Linked DNA regions of Homo sapiens: all the other regions are linked to region 1. Evidence: promoter capture Hi-C in 16 types of primary human blood cells and fetal thymus (Javierre and others, 2016). All regions are on one chromosome and are shown on one strand. Each heading gives the region's core, a stretch centred on a gene start or on the middle of the fragment in contact. The rest is flanking DNA. Distances are from core to core; before and after follow the strand shown.

Region 1 (2,732 bases), core at 155-2,654:
AGGGTTGGGATGGCTGCTGGAAACACAGGAGATCTATCTAATCACCCATTTTGTTAAAACTTTTCTGTCTTACATCTGGACCAGGACTTCTGAAATTGAAAGGCTTGGAGTTAACATCTTTGTACGCCATTGTGCCATGAAGCAATGATGATTCCCATCCAGCTGCCTAAAGAGAAAGAGGTTTGTGTCAAACATTCTGATGGGAGAGATTCTTTAAAATGTTCTTTGTGAACCATGAAAGCATTACTTTCTCATGTCCTACCATGAATTTACACAACTGATGCAAAAATCTAATAACAAAGGTTGAGTAGCATTTTCCAAACAACAGTGAGCTGGGAGCAAGGAAGCTGGCTTCTGATATCAGCTTCACCCACAACTGTCTGTGCATTAAACTAGTCACAATGTTTCTCTAGGCCTCAATTTCCTCACCAGTAGAACAAAAGAGTAAGATTTGATAACTACTATGGTCCCTTCCAGACTTAAAGTTTCCAGACATAAAGGTCCTTTACAGACTTAAATCTGTAGTTTAAAGTTGAGTCATCTCTGGCACCTACAACCTAACCCTTTGCCATCTATACTGGAAAAGAAAATCTTGTTACTCTTTTCAAATAGCCTATTTTTCAGTAGAACTGTATTTTGGCAAACACCTATATTTGGAGTCAGAAGGACAAGGTTCAGTGTCCAGGTCCACTGCTGACCAGTGTTGTGAACCTCGGAAGGTTTCTAATCTCTCTTAAGGTTGGGTTTCTTGAGTGTGTAATGGGGATATGTGTCCTATGCTGCTCACAAGGATTTTGTTGGCATCTTATTTGATGACTTCACTGAAAACCCGTTATTGTAACACACTCTGTTGATGTAAGCTATTTTGACATGATCATCCATGTTCTGCGGGAGAAGCTCAAATAGTAGATCTCTGAGGAAACTCACGCATGTTGAAGGAGTGGAGTCGGTGCTTTAGGAAGGAAAATCTGTGTGTGGGTCTCAAGTCTCACCGCATGGGTCATAACCTATTCCTGACCCTGACAGAAAATCCTTCTAGAAATAAAAGAGAAATAAAGGAAATCCACCATACCAAGGCATAAAAAGACAGCCATGAAAAAGTAACATAAGGGGAGAGGAAGATGGGCTTATAACAGATTACAGGATGTTGTCAGTTTTAATAACGTGATGTGAAGAAAAGATTCTGTTTGCACACAGGGAGAGGTTCTTTTCCTGGCTAGTCAAAGCACACCTTACGTACATTCTGAAGCCGTCTCTTATATGATTCATTTTTTTCACTGTAGATAAGACTTTTATGGATGGATTGTTTTTCTCAAATAATATTATCGCTTTGTGACTAAAGTAAAGATTATTAATTCCTGAGGCAAGAAGATATAAAAGCTCCAGAAACGTTGACTGGGACCACTGGAGACACTGAAGAAGGCAGGGGCCCTTAGAGTCTTGGTTGCCAAACAGGTAATCCTCCTCGCGGTTGATGATGGGGGACTTTCTTTAAACATCTGTTTTCCTCTGTCAGCTATTAGCCAGGCCAGAAATGACAAATTGTATTTCTAGTGAGGCTTGTCAGGCTTTCTGTTGCTGTGTTGTTTGATTTAAATTATTTACCTTCTTTTCTTCCTTCACTGCAAAGAGCATTGGCTTTGGTGTCAAGCTGTTGGGTTAAATCTTGGCTCTGCAGTCTGGTAGCTGGGAAACTTTAGAAAAGTTACTCAATCATAAGTGTCAGTGTCTTCATTTGTAACATGCATTCATGAGATCTACAGTGCAGGTTTTTTGTTTTTGTTTCTGTTTTTGTTTTTGTTTTTGTTTTTTTATGGAGTCTTGCTCTGTCTCCCAGGCTGGAGAGCAATGGTGCAATCTTGGCTCACTGCAACTTCTGCCTCCCAGGTTCAAGTGATTCTCCTGCCTCAGCCTCCTGAGTAGCTGTGATTACAGGCACTTGCCACCACGCCCAGCTAATTTTTGTATTTTTTAATAGAGACAGGGTTGTGCCATGTTGGCCAGGCTGGTCTTGAACTCCTGACCTCAGGTGATCCACCTGCCTCAGCCTCTCAAAGTGCTGGGATTTCAGCCATGAGCCACCACACCCGGCCCAGTGCAGCTTACTTATGAACATGACATGCAGACATTCAATGAATATCAGTTCACTAAAAATTATTCACAGATTAGTAAAAAAGATGCTGCCTCTCCCTTCCCCCAGATGGTCACCTTGACAGAGAAATTCTGTTTGCGTTTTAAAGGGGTTTGAGGACATTGAAAATACACTATTACTTTTGGAAGGAAAGTTTAGCAAAGTGCAAGGTTCACGCAATGATTTAAAAAGAAGTAAGGGGTGGGGAAGGTCACATCCACACTCTCCAAGCTTTGTCTCATTCTCAGTTAATGTTGCCTTAAAGTGTTCAGATGGACCCCAGAATTGATTTTCCAGAAAAGTCATCATTTACATTATTCTCTTTAAGCAATCCATTATTTGAGAGTTAGATTGTATATTCAGATTTTTTAATCATAAAGTATGATTAAATGTGAATTCAATGAATTAACTCATTTTAAGAATTATTTGGGAGGGAAATCCAGAACTCAGTTTCATACTTATGTTAAAACAAAGCCCAGACAGATGAAAATAGAACAGTGATAAATATTTTAACCTTATGTGACAGTAATGGCCAGTCTTTTGATATAAATTTAAAAATTATTTTTAAAAACATAAAAAATAACAATATTTTTGAAAATTT
Region 2 (2,732 bases), core at 107-2,606, 120 kb before region 1:
ATGGTAAGTATTTATGTGTCTGAACATATTTAAGAAGAGGTACAGTAGAAGATTTAAAAGGTACAGTAAAAATACAATATAAAAGATAAAAAATAGTACACCTGTATAGGGCATTTACTATGAAAGGAGCTTGCAAGACTGGAACTTGCTGGGTGAGTCAGTGAATGGTAAGTGAATGTGAAGGCCTAGGACATTACTGTACACTACTGCAGACTTTGTAAATACTGTACACCTAAGCTACACTGAATTTATTTAAAAAGTAATTGTGCTATGACATTACAAGGCTATGATGTTACTAGGCAACAGGAATTTGTCAGCTTCAGCTTCATTATGGGACCACTGTCGTATGTGCTGCCTGCATTGACTAAAATGTCATTATGCGGTTGCATAACTGTATTTATTGTTATGTTCTTTTTTGGACTGTTTTTATATTTTGGATTATACTTTGGAAAAATTACTGAGCCTCTCTTGAGCTCCAGTTTCCTTCTCTTTGAGATGGGACAAATAATAGGACCTACACCATAGGGTGCTACTTCACTGGATTGTGTGGGAGAGTACATGCGGAGCCCTAGTATGTTCTTTCCTTTACTTGTACAACTCACCAGGATGACAGCTGTCATGAATAAAGAGTGTGCTTTGCCCTGCCCAACTACAAGGTCCCACTACCAGTTGAGGAGTATACTCTGATTCATTGTGAAAATGCCAACAAGGGTGGTTATCCCTTGCTGGAAAGCAGGTTAAAAGGATTTTCATAATTCTGTACCTCTTCTCTTTCCTCCAGGCCTACTCTGTGAAGAGAACATTGATGACTGTGCCCGGGGTCCCCATTGCCTTAATGGTGGTCAGTGCATGGATAGGATTGGAGGCTACAGTTGTCGCTGCTTGCCTGGCTTTGCTGGGGAGCGTTGTGAGGGAGACATCAACGAGTGCCTCTCCAACCCCTGCAGCTCTGAGGGCAGCCTGGACTGTATACAGCTCACCAATGACTACCTGTGTGTTTGCCGTAGTGCCTTTACTGGTGAGAAGCTCTCTAGCCTCCTGGCCACTCTGCCTTGGAGGATGGTTTTAGTGAACAAATTGGGCCCTGTGAGTTGTCCCAGACCCAAGTGAAGCTTTTCTTATATAAGAAAAACAACAGCAGCTTAATTTTTTAAAGCCAGTTTTTTCTTAGTCTGTACTTTATGGATGTTATGATCAGTGTCTACCTTTAATTTTTCCTAAGAGATTCTTTTGTTGTGCATTGATTATATCATGCTATGGCAGGAATATTTTTTACAATGTATATTGAAAGTAGTTGAACAAAATAACATTTTTTAATAGTGGCAAAATATCCAAAACCTAAAATTTACTATCTGAATCATTTTAAAGTGTACAGTGTACAGTTCAGTGGCATTGTTTAGTACATTGACATTGTTGTTCTACTATCACCCCCATTCATTCACAGAACTCTTTTCATCTGAACAAAATAACATTTTGTTTTAAGGAACCTTACGTCTAACTCCGGTTTCTTCACCCTGCCTCCTTTGACATGTGATGGCTTGAATTACTGGGTAGTTCCTGCCACCATGATCTTTCCACCCCTAGGACTCAGAGAAGCTTAGGACCCTGCTTAGATACTTAAAGGGGGCAGGTCCAAATTCAAGTGTGTTTAACCAAAGATCAGTTGATGTGGGTATGAAATGAAAAGTTGCAGTGGTCACAAGTAATGCCTTGCCCAGTAAAGGCTTGGCCATGTTCCTACTCTGTTCCCAAGCTTCTTTCTTTCATCACAGGGCCTGAAGATGACCAAGCTCTGCCTCAGAATAGGGGTCTTATCACAAGAACTTACTAGTTACTTCTGGAGAGGGCAGCATGGTGACTTTTGGGAACTAAAATAGTTGTTTGTATCCAGATGTGGCAGGATACTCAGATTTGAAATTTATCATGCATTTCCTGGGGTCTGTAGTTGTATTTCTTATATGGAGGGTGTGATCAGATTCCTTAGGAGTCAGAAAATAGGCTTTAATAGTCTGTTTACAAACAATTCATCAAGCTGAACTCTGCTACATCCTGAGCCCATCTCCAGCCATCTTTCCTTCCAACTTTAAAGATATGCTACCTTACAATCTTGGAATTTTGTAAAGAATGGGAGGGATTCTGCAATATGGAAGCTCCCTGGATACACTAACATCAAAAAAGAAATAGTCCATTGTGAACATAATAGCTATTGAGGCAATGTGGAACAGAATAAGTATGAATAATCTGTCTACAGCCTCGTATTGGCCAAACTGCACTTTGAAAGCCAAAGCATCAAAACTGGCTCCTGTTTCTTTCATTGCCCCTGAGGCTTTTTTCTCTGGAAACACAAGCATTTGCAAAGTAAGGGGGAAGCAGGAGAAGGAAGGAATGGAGACCACTTTGAAGTAGTATCCCACAGCCAGGAAGTAGTGTTTGTGCATTTTCCACATTTGTGAATGAAAAAAAAAAAATCCCTTGAATACATTGAGCACAGTTATTGTGGGATGCTGTTGCAGAGATAAACAGCAAGGGACTGGTGGTCCACCAAGCTGTGTCCATGTGGTGGCTGCTCTTGGTTAGCGGCTGCTGCTGTGATTTGAAGAGACAAACATTTATACCTCTTGCTGCTTGATCTCGTTGGCCAAAAACATTACTATTTTTATTTCATTTTTAAAGCTACCTCTTCTTTCCCAAGTGACCACCGGCCAAATGGGGCCTATCTCCTGCTGTTGGCC
Region 3 (2,732 bases), core at 109-2,608, 110 kb after region 1:
TCCATGTGTTCTCATTGTTCAATTCCCACCTATGAGTGGGAACATGCGGTGTTTGGTTTTTTTGTCCTTGCGATAGTTTACTGAGAATGATGATTTCCAATTTCATCCATGTCCCTACAAAGGACATGAACTCATCATTTTTTATGGCTGCATAGTATTCCATGGTGTATATGTGCCACATTTTCTTAATCCAGCTGTCATTGTTGGACATTTGGGTTGGTTCCAAGTCTTTGCTATTGTGAATAGTGCCGCAATAAACATACGTGTGCATGTGTCTTTATAGCAGCATGATTTATAATCCTTTGGGTATATCCAGTAATGGGATGGCTGGGTCAAATGGTATTTCTAGTTCTAGATCCTTGAGGAATCGCCACACTGACTTCCACAATGGTTGAACTAGTTTACAGTCCCACCAACAGTGTAAAAGTGTTCCTATTTCTCCACATCCTCTCCAGCACCTGTTGTGTCCTGACTTTTTAATGATCGCCATTCTAACTGGTGTGAGATGGTATCTCATTGTGCTTTTGATTTGCATTTCTCTGATGGCCAGTGATGATGAGCATTTTTTCATGTGTCTTTTGGCTGCATAAATGTCTTCTTTTGAGAAGTGTCTGTTCATATCCTTTGCCCACTTTTTGATGGGTTTGTTTGTTTTTTTCTTGTAAATTTGTTTGAGTTCATTGTAGATTCTAGATATTAGCCCTTTGTCAGATGAGTAGATTGCAAAAATTTTCTCCCAGTCTGTAGGTTGCCTGTTCACTCTGATGGTAGTTTATTTTGCTGTGCAGAAGCTCTTTAGTTTCATTAGATCCCATTTGTCAATTTTGGCTTTTGTTGCCATTGCTTTTGGTGTTTTAGACAGGAAGTCCTTGCCCATGCCTATGTCCTGAATGGTATTGCCTAGGTTTTCTCTCGGGTTTTTATGGTTTTAGGTCTAACGTTTAAGTCTTTAATCCATCTTGAATTAATTTTTGTATAAGGTGTAAGGAAGGGATCCAGTTTCAGCTTTCTACATATGGCTAGCCAGTTTTCCCAGCACCATTTATTAAATAGGGAATCCTTTCCCCATTGCTTGTTTTTGTCAGGTTTGTCAAAGATCAGATAGTTGTAGATATGCGGCATTATTTCTGAGGGCCCTGTTCTGTTCCATTGCTCTATATCTCTGTTTTGGTACCAGTACCATGCTGTTTTGGTTACTGTAGCCTTGTAGCATAGTTTGAAGTCAGGTAGTGTGATGCCTCCAGCTTTGTTCTTTTGGCTTAGCATTGACTTGGCAATGCGGGCTCTTTTTTGGTTCCATATGAACTTTAAAGTACTTTTTCCCAATTCTGTGAAGAAAGTCATTGGTAACTTGATGGGGATGGCATTGAATCTATAAATTACCTGCCCATAGGGAACTTGCAGTCTAGTGTGTGAGCATGTATGTGCTATGTGTGTAGTCTGTGTCAGAAAAGCCTCAGAGACGGTAACACTTAGGCAGAGATCTGAAGGTGAAGACAGCCAGTGAAGACCATTTAGAGGAAAGAGAATAATAAAAACAAAGTCCCTTGGGTAGGAAAGTACATGGATTTTTCTAGGAACTGACAGAAGGTCAGAACAGCAATGATATAGAGAATGTGGGTGAACATGGCAGAAGACAAGGTGGGAGACATCAGCAGGGGCCACAGCATTGAGACCATGGGAATAGTCTCGACTTTGGGAGATGCAAGTATCAGAAACCCAGTGTAAACTGGTTCAAGGAAAAAAGGGAATGTATTGGCTCAGTTGTCCAAAAAGATCAAGTGTGGACAAAAACTTGCTCAGATAGTGTCACTGGCAATCCATGTCTCTCTCACCTGTCTGTTTTCCTCTGGCTTGCTTCATTTCCAGAAAGGCAAAATGTGGCAAGAATGTCACAAGTTAGTAAAGAATATAAAATTCAGCCACATAGTCTAGCAGTTTAGCAATCCTAAAAGATTGCACTGGTTTTCTTTTTTTTTTTTTTTTTTTGAGACGGAGTTTCGCTCTGTCGCCCAGGCTGGAGTGCAGTGGCGCGATCTCGACTCACTGCAAGCTCCGCCTCCCGGGTTCACGCCATTCTCCTGCCTCAGCCTCCCGTGTAGCTGGGACTACAGGCGCGCGCCACCATGCCCGGCTAATTTTTGTATTTTTAGTAGAGACGGGGTTTCACCGTGTTGCACTGGTTTTCTAATAATTGCCACAAAATGTCCAGACCTTATCCTTATCAGATCCCCCTGGGCCACATATCTGTCCTTGGATTAGTCACAGTGCCCAGGAGGATGAATATGCAGATTTGTCAGTCCTGAATAAAGCAACCACTTCAGATCTGAGGAAAGAATTCATCTATCTGAAGTATACACTAAAATTGTAAGAAAAGTGGGTCCCCAGAGGAAAATTCAGGAAGCTGAAAGAAGGGAAATGGGGATTGGAGGACAGGCAAGGAACACCAACATTGACTACTCCACCATGGTGAAGAAGTTTAGATTTAATTCTAAGTAGATGAGAAACAATTGATGGGTTAATTATAAGGAGGGGACTAATACTAAGTTTTTTTACAGAGCACTCTACCTTAACACAGAAGCTACATTTCACAGTGTTTTCATGTTTTCATTATCACAATGACGATGATCATGGTGAGCAGGGAGGTGATTCCCTTGTGGGGCACATGAAAAGACAGGATAAGACACACCTATAACTTGAAAAGGCAACTCTCTGATAGTGAAAACTAAGAA
Region 4 (2,732 bases), core at 233-2,732, 83 kb after region 1:
GATGAAGAATATTGCCAGGAATATTGATGTGTAGTGGTGCCACGGAGAAGGAAGCCTGGGGAAGGGGAGTCATGGGGAAGAGGACCCCCTGGGGAAGGGGGCAGGAGCCTTGGAACGGCCACTGGTCTGGAGCCTGTCTCCCAGTTACTGCTTCATCAATGAAATGCTCACCTATTTGGCTATGAGTGCTCTTAGTTTTACTTAACTCCTGACCTCTGCCTTTTATATCAAAATTCTCCATGGACTAAACCTTGACCCTTGATCCCTTACAAAAGAGGATGGAGGAGGGAGTGCTCTTTGTGGCTTATGGCATCCCACCATCCCTGCACAGAGGGCAAGGCTGTGGTTTGTTTACATGATCAATGATCCTGCTGGGCTACATCTGCCTCTCTCAGGAGTCCAGGGATCAAGAATACACCTGGCCCTTCTCAGTGCAGAGGCTTAGGAAAGATATCTGGCTGACTTAAATAAATAAGATGGGGAGTGGAGGCAGGAGGGAGAGGATAATATTCAATGTGTACAATGGGATGCTCACCAGGCTCTAGGCTACTGTCCATTTGCTATGAGTCCTTAGGCATAAGCTTACAAATTCTAGATGTCAATGTAAAATTAAGGGTTAATCTATTAAGATCCCTTCTAACTCTAAGAAGGTAGGAGGGATGTAGAAAAAGGGAGAGTTCCATAGCAGCTCTATGTAAACTTTTCTAGATTTGACATGATCTGGTTGTCAAAACTGATCTCCTAATGTTTAAAGACTTCCTGGCTGCAGTTTGACCCCATAATCCCTGTAATTCCCTAAAACAGAAAGTGAACAGAGAGATGTCCCATAGTAGCCTTAGTGGGTTCATCTCTTTGGCCTATCTGGGAAGCCCTGCAGATCCCCTCTCTTAGCTGAATTGCCTCTCTCATTTGCAAGGTCTCCTGGATTAGCCCAAGTGGGTGGCACTGCTACTGATGGCAACCAGAGGGTTGCAATCAGGCTAAGGGAGTAGCCAGAAGCCTACTGAGCTCCCAGAGTAGGAAAAGGCAGAGACCTGGGGGAAGACAGGAGTTAGGTGTGATTTCTGAGACCGGTGTGAGGTCTTCCAGCCACCATAGGCTCTACAATCATATCATAGTGTACATACAAGCACTTTTAAATCTTTTCTGAAATATGGAGGGAAACTGGAAGGACAGATGGACAATGGATGTAAGGCTCTACTGTGAGGCCATAAACTTGTTCCTGTTTTCTAAATTATCACAGGAAAGCAGACAAAACAAAAGCAGGAAGGAAAGAAAGAATGGGCAGGACACAAGCACCCTCCCTGTGAGGCAGGATAGGTAATCAAGGAAGTGCAGCAACCTTGGTGATCCTATAGTCAACACAATAAGCCTCGGTATTCATATTCTAACTGAGCTCATTCAAGCAAAGCTATCTTCAGTAGGGAACTTCCCATCTAGACAGCCTGTGCACTTTGATTTTTCCTGTCCTCAAACTGACCCCCTGGCTCATTATAATAGTAAAAAACACACTCCTGGGTGGAGATTTAAGATGCTAATAAGACATGTGCCAAATGAACAAGAATGTACAGCTACTACTCATGTGCACCCAGAGGACCACCCAAAACATGCTTACTAGTAACAGCTCTTCCCACCTCCTTATGAATAATCATGTAAAACTCCTATAAAGGGAGTTTCTCCAGCAATAATCAACACTGCCTCATTCGTTTTTGTTTTTGTTTCTGTTTTTTAAGACGGAGTCTCGCTCTGTCGCCCAGGCTGGAGTGCAGTGGCATGATCTCGGCTCACTGCAAGCTCCGCCTCCCGGGTTCACGCCATTCTCCTGCCTCAGCCTCCCAAGTAGCTGGGACTACAGGCGCCCGCCACCACGCCCGGCTAATTTTTTTTTTTTTTTTTTTAGTAGCGATGCGGTTTCACCATGTTATCCAGGATGGTCTTGATCTCCTGACCTCATGATCTGCCTGCCTCGGCCTCCCAAAGTGCTGGATTACAGGCGTGAGCCACCGCGCCCGGCCAACACTGCCTCACTCTTATGAGCAGCCCACCCTGAATTCTCTCTCTCCCGAGGTGTACTGTCTACTCTGCACTTAACTTTCAAAATATTCTTTTTCCTTTGCAATAAACTCCTCAATGCTGCACCGTGTCTCTTGTTTAAATTCTTTTAAACTAAGAAGACAGGAACCAAAGTCTCAAAAGAGCCATCAACACCTGGTTCACTGGGACTCAGGGCTATTCACTCACCAGAGAGCTAAAGGACCCCCACCAAGTATTTCCAGCTTTTGAGTCCAGATCAGCAGGCCAGTGTTCTCTCCCTCCTTGACTTTAACACTTATTTAGATGGGGGCTCCAAGAGAGGGTCAGACCCTCCTAGAACAAAGCTTCTGGCTTCTGCCCAGACATGCTGCCTTTCCCAAAATTGCTGCAGAAAGTCCCACATCACAGGGTTCCAGCAACATCTTACCTTCATCCCAAAGGACTGCATCCGGGTAGCTACCTCTCTCCCAATCCTGCCCAGGCCAAGAATTCCCAGGGTCTTTCCATTCAGCTCTGTTCCCATGAACTGCAACCAAACAGGCAAAAGGAAAGAAGCTGAAGTCAGCAACATGAGTGGACCCCGGGCCCTGAGCCCAGGTGGGGCGAGTCAAGGCCGCTGCTCACCTTCTTCCGCTCCCATTTGCCGTCCTTCATCGAAGCCGTCGCCTGGGGAATCTGCCTGCAAGGATAGACACAGG

What was found. The method cuts DNA at HindIII sites, captures the fragments that hold promoters and counts their contacts. A CHiCAGO score of 5 or more calls a contact.
Region 2: a contact is called between a fragment that was not itself captured here and the fragment with the promoter of REG4 in region 1, in 5 of 17 cell types (M0 macrophages, M2 macrophages, megakaryocytes and 2 more). The highest score is 13.7, in M0 macrophages.
Region 3: a contact is called between a fragment that was not itself captured here and the fragment with the promoter of REG4 in region 1, in 1 of 17 cell types (M0 macrophages). The highest score is 5.3, in M0 macrophages.
Region 4: a fragment that was not itself captured here is called in contact with the fragment with the promoter of REG4 in region 1 in 3 of 17 cell types (M1 macrophages, M0 macrophages and M2 macrophages); the score reaches 8.7 in M1 macrophages.

What each region holds. Positions count from the first base shown.
Region 1 is chr1:119,810,132-119,812,863 of GRCh38, reverse strand. REG4 (regenerating family member 4) reads left to right here and starts at 1,404. Exons shown (of 6, transcript NM_032044.4): 1 at 1,404-1,455. The HindIII fragment of the contact is 5,277 bases long and covers 1-2,364 here.
Region 2 is chr1:119,927,262-119,929,993 of GRCh38, reverse strand. NOTCH2 (notch receptor 2) reads left to right here. Exons shown (of 34, transcript NM_024408.4): 23 at 782-1,018. Among named protein-coding and RNA genes, the nearest start is that of ADAM30, 32 kb to the right of the region's middle. The HindIII fragment of the contact is 484 bases long and covers 1,115-1,598 here.
Region 3 is chr1:119,704,223-119,706,954 of GRCh38, reverse strand. All of the region lies in intron 1 of LOC105378937 (a long non-coding RNA gene), which reads left to right. Among named protein-coding and RNA genes, the nearest start is that of PHGDH, 6.3 kb to the left of the region's middle. The HindIII fragment of the contact is 4,943 bases long and covers 1-2,732 here.
Region 4 is chr1:119,726,832-119,729,563 of GRCh38, reverse strand. It overlaps PHGDH (phosphoglycerate dehydrogenase), which reads right to left. Exons shown (of 12, transcript NM_006623.4): 4 at 2,659-2,713; 5 at 2,462-2,560. Among named protein-coding and RNA genes, the nearest start is that of PHGDH, 16 kb to the right of the region's middle. The HindIII fragment of the contact is 1,797 bases long and covers 584-2,380 here.